Regions from separate parts of the Homo sapiens genome. Here region 1 is linked to region 2. The links are contacts of gene promoters, found by promoter capture Hi-C in blood cells and fetal thymus (Javierre and others, 2016). All regions are on one chromosome and are shown on one strand. The core of a region is centred on a gene start or on the middle of the fragment in contact, and the rest is flanking DNA. Distances in the headings are between cores, read along the strand shown. Region 1 overlaps CCDC73 (coiled-coil domain containing 73). Region 2 holds the start of CCDC73 (coiled-coil domain containing 73).

What was found. The method cuts DNA at HindIII sites, captures the fragments that hold promoters and counts their contacts. A CHiCAGO score of 5 or more calls a contact.
Region 1: a contact is called between a fragment that was not itself captured here and the fragment with the promoter of CCDC73 in region 2, in 1 of 17 cell types (M2 macrophages). The highest score is 5.1, in M2 macrophages.

The regions. Positions count from the first base shown.
Region 1 is chr11:32,710,659-32,715,492 of GRCh38, reverse strand. The region is part of intron 3 of CCDC73 (coiled-coil domain containing 73); the gene reads left to right. Among named protein-coding and RNA genes, the nearest start is that of CCDC73, 82 kb to the left of the region's middle. The HindIII fragment of the contact is 572 bases long and covers 2,205-2,776 here.
Region 2 is chr11:32,791,175-32,796,333 of GRCh38, reverse strand. It overlaps CCDC73 (coiled-coil domain containing 73), which reads left to right and starts at 1,672. Exons shown (of 18, transcript NM_001008391.4): 1 at 1,672-1,721. RefSeq lists silencers at 3,177-3,296, 3,307-3,356. The HindIII fragment of the contact is 7,830 bases long and covers 1,566-5,159 here.

The sequences.
Region 1 (4,834 bases), core at 1,241-3,740, 82 kb after region 2:
TATCAGTTTTTCCTTTTGTTGGATCATAATTTGTTGGATCACTTTATAGGACAGTGGCTATGCAACAGTACTTAAGATTCCAGAAGTTACACTTCTGAACACACCAACGTGGAAAAACACTAAAGAAAAGTTTGTTATCAGAACTTGTAGATCACTTTAAAGCCAGCAGCTAGGAATACCTATATTAAACCAAGAGAACAGAGGCCATCCCCAAATCAAAAATTTCCATTAGTAATTGGACTCACACCATAGAGTGGCCAAGAATGTAGGGAGCAATATTAAGGATAAGGACCTTTGAAACCATCATGGTTAATAAATAATATGTTTTTACTCACTTAAGGGGCTGGATTAAGAAAGGGGAAAGAAAGTACCTCAGAAAATAAAGAACAAAAGCCTGCAAATAAAAGCATTGCAATCTTTAGCTCTGATTATCTAGGTAGGGTGTTAGCAAGCTTTTTTTGTAAAGAGCCACGTAGTAAATATTTCAGACTTTGTGGACAGTATGGTCTCTGTCACAACCATTCAACTTTGTTATAGTGTAAAAGCAGCCATGGACAGTACTTACATGAATCAGTGTGTCTATGTTCCTATAAAATGTTATGGACACTAAGATTTATATTTTATACAATATTCAGGTGATTTGAAATGTTATTTTTTTATTTTTCTTTTTAACCCATTAAAAATATAAAAACCATTCCTGGCTCACAGGCCATATAAAAACAGACTCTGTAGGTCTTGGGTAGAGGCTGTCTTGATCCATACCTCTTGAATGGTAGCTGTTTCTTTCTGAATATGTCTGCTTCTGAAGCTTTCTCAAGACTCCTTAGATTTAAATTTCTTGATGGAATGGCATTCCATGTATTAGTGAAACCTAGTGTCTGTTCATCTGGGAGACATGAATTCAAGGATCTATTCCCCAGGGGTTAGCTACTGTGCTGGCAGTTCTTGGTAGGATTATTTCCAACATGGTTTCAGGATATTTGTTTTTTCTTTCTGAGGTCATTTCTAGAAGACATTACCTCTGAGCTTTTGGTCATATAGAAGAAAAGCAACTGTTATCTGTTTGTGATAAGACTCTGAAACAGATTACATTAGTCCCTTGGAGTGTTTTGCCACATTTGTCTGAAGTAAAGAAATGTCCAAAATCAGGGGAGAAGTAGCCAACTTCATAGGGCAAACTCTTAACAAGTTTATATGGTAAAAGCCAATGAATATAGGGGAGTATGGACTTCATGGTGTTATGAGTTAGAGGTAACCTTCTTGGTCATGGAAGTTTAAGAGTGTCAGATACAGTGTGCCATTAGTCCTCTCTACTTTTCTTCAAGTTTGAGGATGATGGGGGCAATGAATTTCTAAATAAATGACAAGGTTTTGCAAAGTTCTGTAATGACAGTCCCAGTAAAATGAGTAACCCTGTCCCTGGAGATAGATCCTCAGGTTGGAAACACAAAATCAAGTAATTTGTTTTTCTACTCACAGAACTGTAGCTCTCTGGCAAGAAGTTTTAGTTCATCCTGAAAAGATGGAAGCAATGATGAACATACTCAGAACCTGTTCTAGGGGTTAATTTTAGGAAATCCATTTGAAAGTGTTTATAGGGACCCTAAGGCTTGGATTTACAAGGATAACAGTTTTACCAAGACAGTGCTAATGACAGCTGTACACCAGAGACATCCTCAGCAATTTTAGTAAAATTTCACCACCAATGCTGATTGAATATAATGTTCAGTTTGTCCTTGCTCTGAGGGGTAATTTCCTATAAAATTTTTACAAAGTTCCATTGAGGTCCTCTGGTGCCACCAAGTGTCTGTCCTGAAAGTGTCCTGAAAGAGATTTTCTTTTTGTAATTTATTATCACATTTTTTCTTCAGACTCTGGAGCCAGTTGTAGGCATTCCAAAATAGGCTTTTTAAACTTCTTCAAAGATTTGGCTTTTTGGATATCATGGGGGCCGGGACTGTATGTCATAAAGATTAGCTAGGGTATTTCCTCTAGCCTTAACGTTATCCCTTTCAGTGTGGCTTTATGATAACCATCCCCTAAGGAAGCATTAGAACACTTAAAATGGTTGACTACTTGAAATTGGGATTCCTACTGAGATCGGAAACCATAATTATTTTTACAGTATTCCAAAATCATGGACAACACCAAAGGCATAGCTGCTATTAATGTTAACTCTCTAATGTCTTGGCAACTGGCAAGCTTTGCTGAATAGAATAAGTTCTGTCATCTGGGCTGGTTTAACCTCTGGTAAGGAGTCATGATTTAGGGGTCAGTTGAGACTGTTGCAATATATCCTGCCTGATATTTTTTCCATTTCACTTTCAAAAAATGACCTATCAACAAACAAGATTACATGTAAATTTAATCCGGGGGGAGTTTCTAATAAATCTGTCTGAAGCACAGTTATTGCTTAGACAGAGACTGAGTCGTCATGGATTTTCCTTTCTTTGGGTAATGGAAAAACAATACCAGGCTTTTTGTTAAACTTGTCTATGAGTAACACTTATTAGAAATAGAGATCAAAGAGATATACTTTATATAGGAAGTTATTGATTATCAAAATATTTCTTGAAAGAAAGTTTGGTAGGTGCTCTGTTCAATCCCCATCTCTTTACTACATTAGTATATTTTTTCATTAAGATATAAAAGCATTTTAACCTGTTTCTATTCAAGCATTTATATATGCTATATATAAAATGAAGTGTATATATACATATTTATAATGAATAACATAAAAAGTAAATTAGTATATACATGTACATATATGTAAGCTTAGGTAAGATTATATGACAGACTTATTGGCAATTTTAGGGGGCAATTGTCAAATAGTATTATTGTATAGTTTGTGCAAATTAAAAATTAAAGAGAAATAAGCAATGAGTTTTTCTTTTTCAGTTTTCATGCCTCTTATTTTTTATTTAGATCTTTATTTTAATTGAAAAATAAATATTGTATATATGGGCTACAATGTGATGTTTTGATACACCTGTGTATGTATATGTTGTGGAATGGTTATATCAAACTAATTAACATATCCATCACTTCAATGCTTATTTTTTTATAGTGAGAATATTTAAAATCTACTTTTACCAATTTTGAAATATACATTATTATTAACTATGCTTACTACATGCTGTGCAGTAGATCTCAAACTTATTCTTTCCATCTAACTGGAACTTTGTACCCTTGATCAACATCTCCCTTCCCTCCACCCCAGGCCTCCACCTCCCTAGCTTCTTGTAACCACTATTCTACTCTCAACTTGTATAAGTTTGACTTTTTTAGGTCCCATATATAAGTGAGATCATGTGGTATTTGTCTTCCTGTTAGTAGACTTTCAGGTATTATAGCACTGGGTGGAAATGTGTGGGGGAGAAAGTAATAAAAGTTCATAGGAGGTGAACCTGCTTGCTGAGAAATGTGTTTTTAGTAAATAACAAGGATTGCGCAGCATGAGGTATCATGAAGTCTAAATAAATCCTTAAACCACATTAGTAGAAGCCTCTACTAGTTTGACAGCTGCTAATACTGCCCTTGATAAGGAGCTGGCTTTTGCCACTAGGTCTAAGGGAAGACTGTAATAAACAATTAGACCCTGATGACTCCCATGGTGTTCTGTTAGAGCATTAAGGGCTTGTCTACACTGCTGAGGTACAAATAGGTAGAAAGCTTTATGACAATCGGAAGACCCAGAAAGGGGCGCTGTTAAAGTTTTTGTTTTTGTTTTTTTCAATAGGTTTTTAGGGAGCAGGTAGTGTTTAGTTACATGAATAAGTTCTTTAGTGGTCATTTCCAAGATTTTGGTGCACCCATCACCCGAACAGTCTACACTGTACCCAGTGTGTATTCTTTTATCCCTCACCCCTCTCCCAGCCTTTTGCCTGATTCCCCAAAGTCCAATGTATTATTCTTAGGCCTTTGTGTGCTCATAGCTTAGCTCCCTCTTGTGAGTGAGAACATATGATATTTGGCATAAAGTCTCCAATTTCATCCAGGTTGCTGTGAATGCCATTATTGCATTCCTTTTTATGGCTAAGTAGTATTCTGTGGTATGTGTATACCATATTTTCTTTATCTACTTGTTGATTGATGGGCATTTGGACTGGTTCCATATTTTTGCAGTTGCAAATTGTGCTGCTATAAACATGGATGTACAAGTATTTTTTTGGTATAATGACTTCTTTTCCTCTGGGTTGAAACCTAGTAGTGGGGTTGCTGGATCAAATGGTAGATCTACTTTTAGTTTTTTAAGGAATCTCCACACTATTTTCCATTGTGGTTGTACTAGTTTACATTCCTACAAGCAGTGTAAAAGTGTTCCCTTTTACCACCTCCACACCAACATCTATTATTTTTTGATTTTTTGATTATGGCCATTCTTGCAGGAGTAAGGTGGTATCACATTGTGGTTTTGATTTGCATTTCCCTGATCATTACTGATGTTGAGCATTTTCCCATATGCTTGTTGGCCATTTGTATATCTTTTTTTTAAGACTCTGGATATTGTTCTTTGTCAGATGTATAGATTGTGAAGATTTTCTCCCACTCTGTGGGTTGTCTGTTAACTCTGCTGATTATTTCTTTTGCTGTGCAGAATCTTTTTAGTTTAATTAAGTCCCATCTATTCATCTTCATTTTTGTTGCATTTGCTTTGGGTTCTTGGTCATGAGATAGATGGCAACACAATAATAGTGGGGGACTTTAATACTCCACTGACAGTGCTAGACAGATCATCCAGACAGAAGGTCAACAAAGAAACAATGGACTTAAACTGTACCCTAGAACAAATGGACTTATCGTATATTTACAGAACATTCTACCCAACAACTGC
Region 2 (5,159 bases), core at 423-2,922:
GTCATAGTCCATTTATTCATTCATATGAATTTATTTGGCATTTACATGCCAGGCATTGTGCTAGATTCTGGTAAGCAAGTGAACAAAATTCATCTCTGTTTTCACGAAGCTTGTGTCCTAGGATACAGTTAATAAATATACCAGACGAGATGGTGATTGTGCTACAGAGAATAAAACAAGGTGGGGTCAAAGTAGGGGATGTGCATGGGTGTTACTATGGGGTAGTTAGGAATGCTTTCCCTAAAAAGGTGACATCTGGGCAAACGCTTGGAGAAAGGGAAGGAGTAAAAAGAATTCCAGACAGATTTTTACTGGAAAACGTGGTTAAAAATTTGAGGGCGGGGGGCCGGCTGCGGTGGCTCATGCCTGTAATCCCAGTACTTTGGGAGGCCAAGGCGGGCAGATCACCTGAGGTCAGGAGTTCAAGACCAGCCTGGCCAACATGGTGAAACCCCGTCTCTACTAAAAATACAAAAATTAGCCAGGTGTGGTGGCAGGCGCCTGTAATCCCAGCTACTCGGGAGGCTGAGGCAGGAGAATCGCTTGAACCCGGGAGGCGGAGGTTGCAGTGAGCTGAGATCGTGCCATTGCACTCCAGCCTGGGGGACAAGAATGAGACTTTTTCTCAAAAAAAAAAAAAAAATTTGAGGGCAGGAACCACTTCTTTTACATTTTGGTAGCATGCAAAAACAATGTAGGCCTGAAACATATTACATTCTTATTGAATGACTATTCAACATAACATACTGAAACATAGCATTAGTTAGGTGCTTAAAATAGGTGTGATTATCAGTATAATTAGAACTGCAGTTTTTTTTCTATTTCACTTTAAAAATTAAGCAACTTTTCTTTTCTTTTTTTTTTTGACAGGGTTTTGCTCCATTGCCTAGGCTGGAGTGCAGTGGTGCAGTCTTGGGTCACTGCAGCCTTGACCTCCCAGGCTCAATCTATCCTCTTGCCTCAGCCTCCCAAGTAGCTGGGATTACAGCCGCACGCCACCATGCCCGGCTGATTTTTGTATTTTTGGGTAGAGACGGGGGTCTCACCATGTTGCCTAGGCTGGTATCGAACTCCTGACCTGAAGCAATCCTCCCACCTCAGCCTCCCAAATTGTTGGGGTTACAGGCATGAGCCAGTGAACCCTCACACCCGGCTAACATTTATTTTTTGAATTAGTAACACATTCACATGAAGCAAACATCAAAAAGTATAAAAAGCTATTCAGTGAAGTCTCCCTCTCTCTCCCGTTCCCATCCACACACTTCCCATTGCTCCCCACAGGTAATACTTACTCATTTTTCTTTCATCTTTCCAAAGACTTTTTTTTTAAAAAACGAATATATCGGGAGGCTGAGGCAGGAGAATGGCATAAACCTGGGAGGTGGAGCTTGCAGTGAGCCGAGATCGCGCCACTCCACTCCAGCCTGGGCGACAGAGCGAGACTCCGTCTCAAAAAAAAAACCAAAAACAAACCGAAAACAAACAAAAACAAAAAAGAATATATAAGCCAATACATGTTGTACTTAAGGAAAAACATCAAATATCCAGGTATCTTTTCCGAAGCTTGTATTTAAAAAGAAAATAAAATCAATCATATTTTGCCCCAGATGCTCAAGATTACCCACGTATCTTAGGCTAATGACCTTCAAGCCGGAAGTGCCCTAGGGCGGGAAAAGGTGAACCGGAAGGGCCAACAGGAGCTAGAGGCGCGCTTCGCTGAGGTAAGTCGGAGCAGTCACAAGCGTGTAGTTGGGCTGTTTAGGAAGCAGCCCTAATCTTTTCATGCAGGGTCCACTTACGGGTTTGCCCTGCACCTCCAGCTGCGTAACCTACCCTTCCTTGCTCTGGTTGCCAAGGGGCTGCTTTGGCCTGGAGCCTCCTGACTGCTGGGCTGTGTCTAGAATCTTCCACGCTCCCGACCCAGGAGAAGCAGCCACACTGAGGCATCCATCTGGATCTCTGCTTGGGCAGGATTGAGACTGCGGGTGAGTCATGAGGGTCTCGTCTGTTCATCGTGGAGAAGCGCCTTCTGTACATGTGCCTTGCGTGGTGGTGGTTTTTGTTTTAAACCTCATATTTGCCTTATGAATGCAATGCAATCATGTCGATTGTTCTTCTGAAAATTTTCAAACAACTCTGACCGCTCAGAGTTAGCAACATTTGGAACTGTTATTGGTGAATCTCGACTTTTTCTTTGGTGAACGTTACTTTTTGCAGAATGTTTTAAGTATAGTGCGAAAGTTCTAGCGCAGTTGCAGAAGTGTGTAAATTCCCAGGGACATTTCTCTATTTTTTCTTCATTCTGCTGGTGATTTTGTTTCTCCCAAACTGCCTTGCACGAGCAAATTTAAATGGAATCTCACTGGGAATGAAATGACTGCCCTGCTAATCCTGATAATGCTGAATTCTAGATATAAATTATTTGGTCGGGGCGGTGGCTCACATCTGTAGTCCCAGCACTTTGGGAGGCCGAGGCGGGCGGATCACCTGAGGTCAGGAGTTTGAGACCAGCCTGGTCAACATGGTGAAACCCCGTCTCTACTAAAAATACAAAAATTAGCCGGGCGTGGTGGCGGGCACCTGTAGTCCCAGCTACTCAGGAGGCTGAGGCAGGAGAATTGCTTGAACCCGGGAGGCGGAGGTTGCAGTGAGCCTAGATCACTCCACTGCACTCCAGCCTGGGCAACAGAGCGAGACTCTGTCTAAAAAAATAAAATAAAATAAAATAAATTATTCATGTCATTGCTGCAATCTTCCACTTCACTTTGCTGCTGAAAATAAGTGACAACCCTTAAGTCATTTATGGGAACCTTTATGATCAGTGCACTTCTTTTAGAAAGAAAATGTGAAGATTCCACGGAGTCTTCTGCTTATATTGAGATCCTCGAATTGATGATTATTGGTTATTTTGCTTTAGTTGTGATAAATTCCTATGGCTCTCTTTGTTTTATACCTTGAAGAAAAAATCTATACTGAAATATCCCAACCTGAGAATCAGCAAATACGCTGTGGATGGAGTTTCCTCTGTAGTCCTTCACTGGTGTCTTCTCTCAGCCATTTCTTCGGCCAATTTGAGTCTTTACAACTCTCCCTGGTTTCAGGGTTGCCTTGGGGGTAGTTGTTAAGTTTTGGAAAATTAGATTCCCCACTTTGATGATTTATAAAGTGTGTTAATGCAGCTTGAGAAAACGTTTTAATTTCCATACGGCTTCATATCGTAGTGTCAGGAAGGAAGCGAATGACAGATTTTTAAATTCCGAGTGTCCACCAGGCGGCAGCATAGGGTTTTTAGTTTCTTTCGCTCTGGCCGTGTATCCCGTAATAACTGTACAGGTGCGGTGATAGTGTTATTCTAATAGTAATAGATATCATATGTGGAATGCTTATTACACGCCAGGGGCTGGAAGTTATCTCATTTAATCCTAAAAAAACAAACCCCAAACCCTGTACCGTAGGTATTCCCAGTATTCTCCTTACACTTCATGGGAAAACCATGGGAAAGAGATTAAATAACAATGCAAGGCTGATTACACAGCCGACAAGTGGTGGAGCTAGAATTGAAACCCAGATGCTTAACCACTACTTCATGCTAACCAAATTAAAGTTATTGCAAGTTTGATCAAATTGTGAAGGATGCTATAGTTAAGATGAGAAATCTGACTGAGTTTTCTGAAGGAGGTGAAAATTGGGCACTGTTATTTATATAGTGTACCTCAAGACAGTTGGAGGTACACCGTTTCCAAAAGACAGTATTTCCTAAATTGTGTTCCAGGGAGCACTAGTCCTGTGAGATGCTTCAATAAAAAAAGGTTTCTGTGGCCAAAAATACTCTTGGAATTCATTTAAGGACTCTAAAATGTCCTGCAGTGAAGGAACTTGTTTAACCTAACTTTTTTTGAACTCACAGCATTCTTAAACTTCTCTGATTACAGCCGACATTAGTCAATGCTTAGCTTTACCATATGAGTAAATACTTACACATGAGTCAATACTTACCTTTACCATAAGCAGTGTACACTTATGTTTTTTATTTTATTTTTTACTAGTCTAGCCTTTCATTAAAAAAAAAATTCTGGTCAAGACCCATTACATTGATTTTTTGACTCATGAATGAGTCACAGTCTACAGTTTTACTGCACTAGACCGTGGGGTCCTATTTTTTTGTGCTGTGCTTATTAATGGAACACACTTTGGGAAATTGTGTTAGAGCTATAGTTGAAAGAAGTCATCGATTCAATGGTAAATGTCTTTGTTGATGGATTATGTTCTTTTATCAGTCCTGGTAACAGTTGAATGAGAACAGTGGTGGGGATTGTGTGTGTGTGTGTGTGTGTGTGTGTGTATGTGTGTGTGTGTGGTTTTTTTTTTTGAGACAGGGTCTGGCTCTGTTGCCCAGGCTGTAGTACAGTGGCGTGATCTTGGCTCACTGCAGCCTCCACCTCCTGGGCTCAAGTGATCCCTCACCTCAGCCTCCTGAATAGTTGGGACTACAGGAGCACACTACCGCAACTGGATACTTTTTGATTTTGTTTTTTGGTAGAGATGGGGTTTCACCATGTTGCTGAGTCTGGTCTTGAGGTCTTGAGCTCCTGAGCTCGAGCAATTGCACTGCCTCGGCCTCCCAAAGTCCTGGGATTGCAGGCATTAGCCACCACGCCTGGCTGAGAACAGTGTTTTTTTAATTGGGAAATTATTCTTTACAATCAGTTTAGGCCACTAGTGAAGGAAGAACATATAACAATTTTGTAGATTAGAATTTTCCAAAGTATGTTCTTTGGAATACATGTTCCCCAGAATATTAGCTTGTCTTATGAATTATGAAAAAAAGTGTTTCAAGATCAAGGTAAACTTGGGAAATACGGATTAAAGTTAAACAGGCTCCAACAAAGCTAATGGGACTGCTTATCTCTGAAATGGGGAGTTAGTGTATGGGATTTCCCAGATTTATTTGACTGTGGAACCTGTTTTTAGAAATGTATCTTGTGGGCCTTGTGCCCCTTAGAACATACTTTGGGAAATAATCATGTAGATAATTAAGGCAGAAATGTTTTTGTTGTAATGTACATTTAGGTGAAAATTTTTATTGTAAATTATTGATGTCATTTTCCTAATTCGTTTATTTGCTAATATTGACATGACAGAGAAACACATCAGGAAGT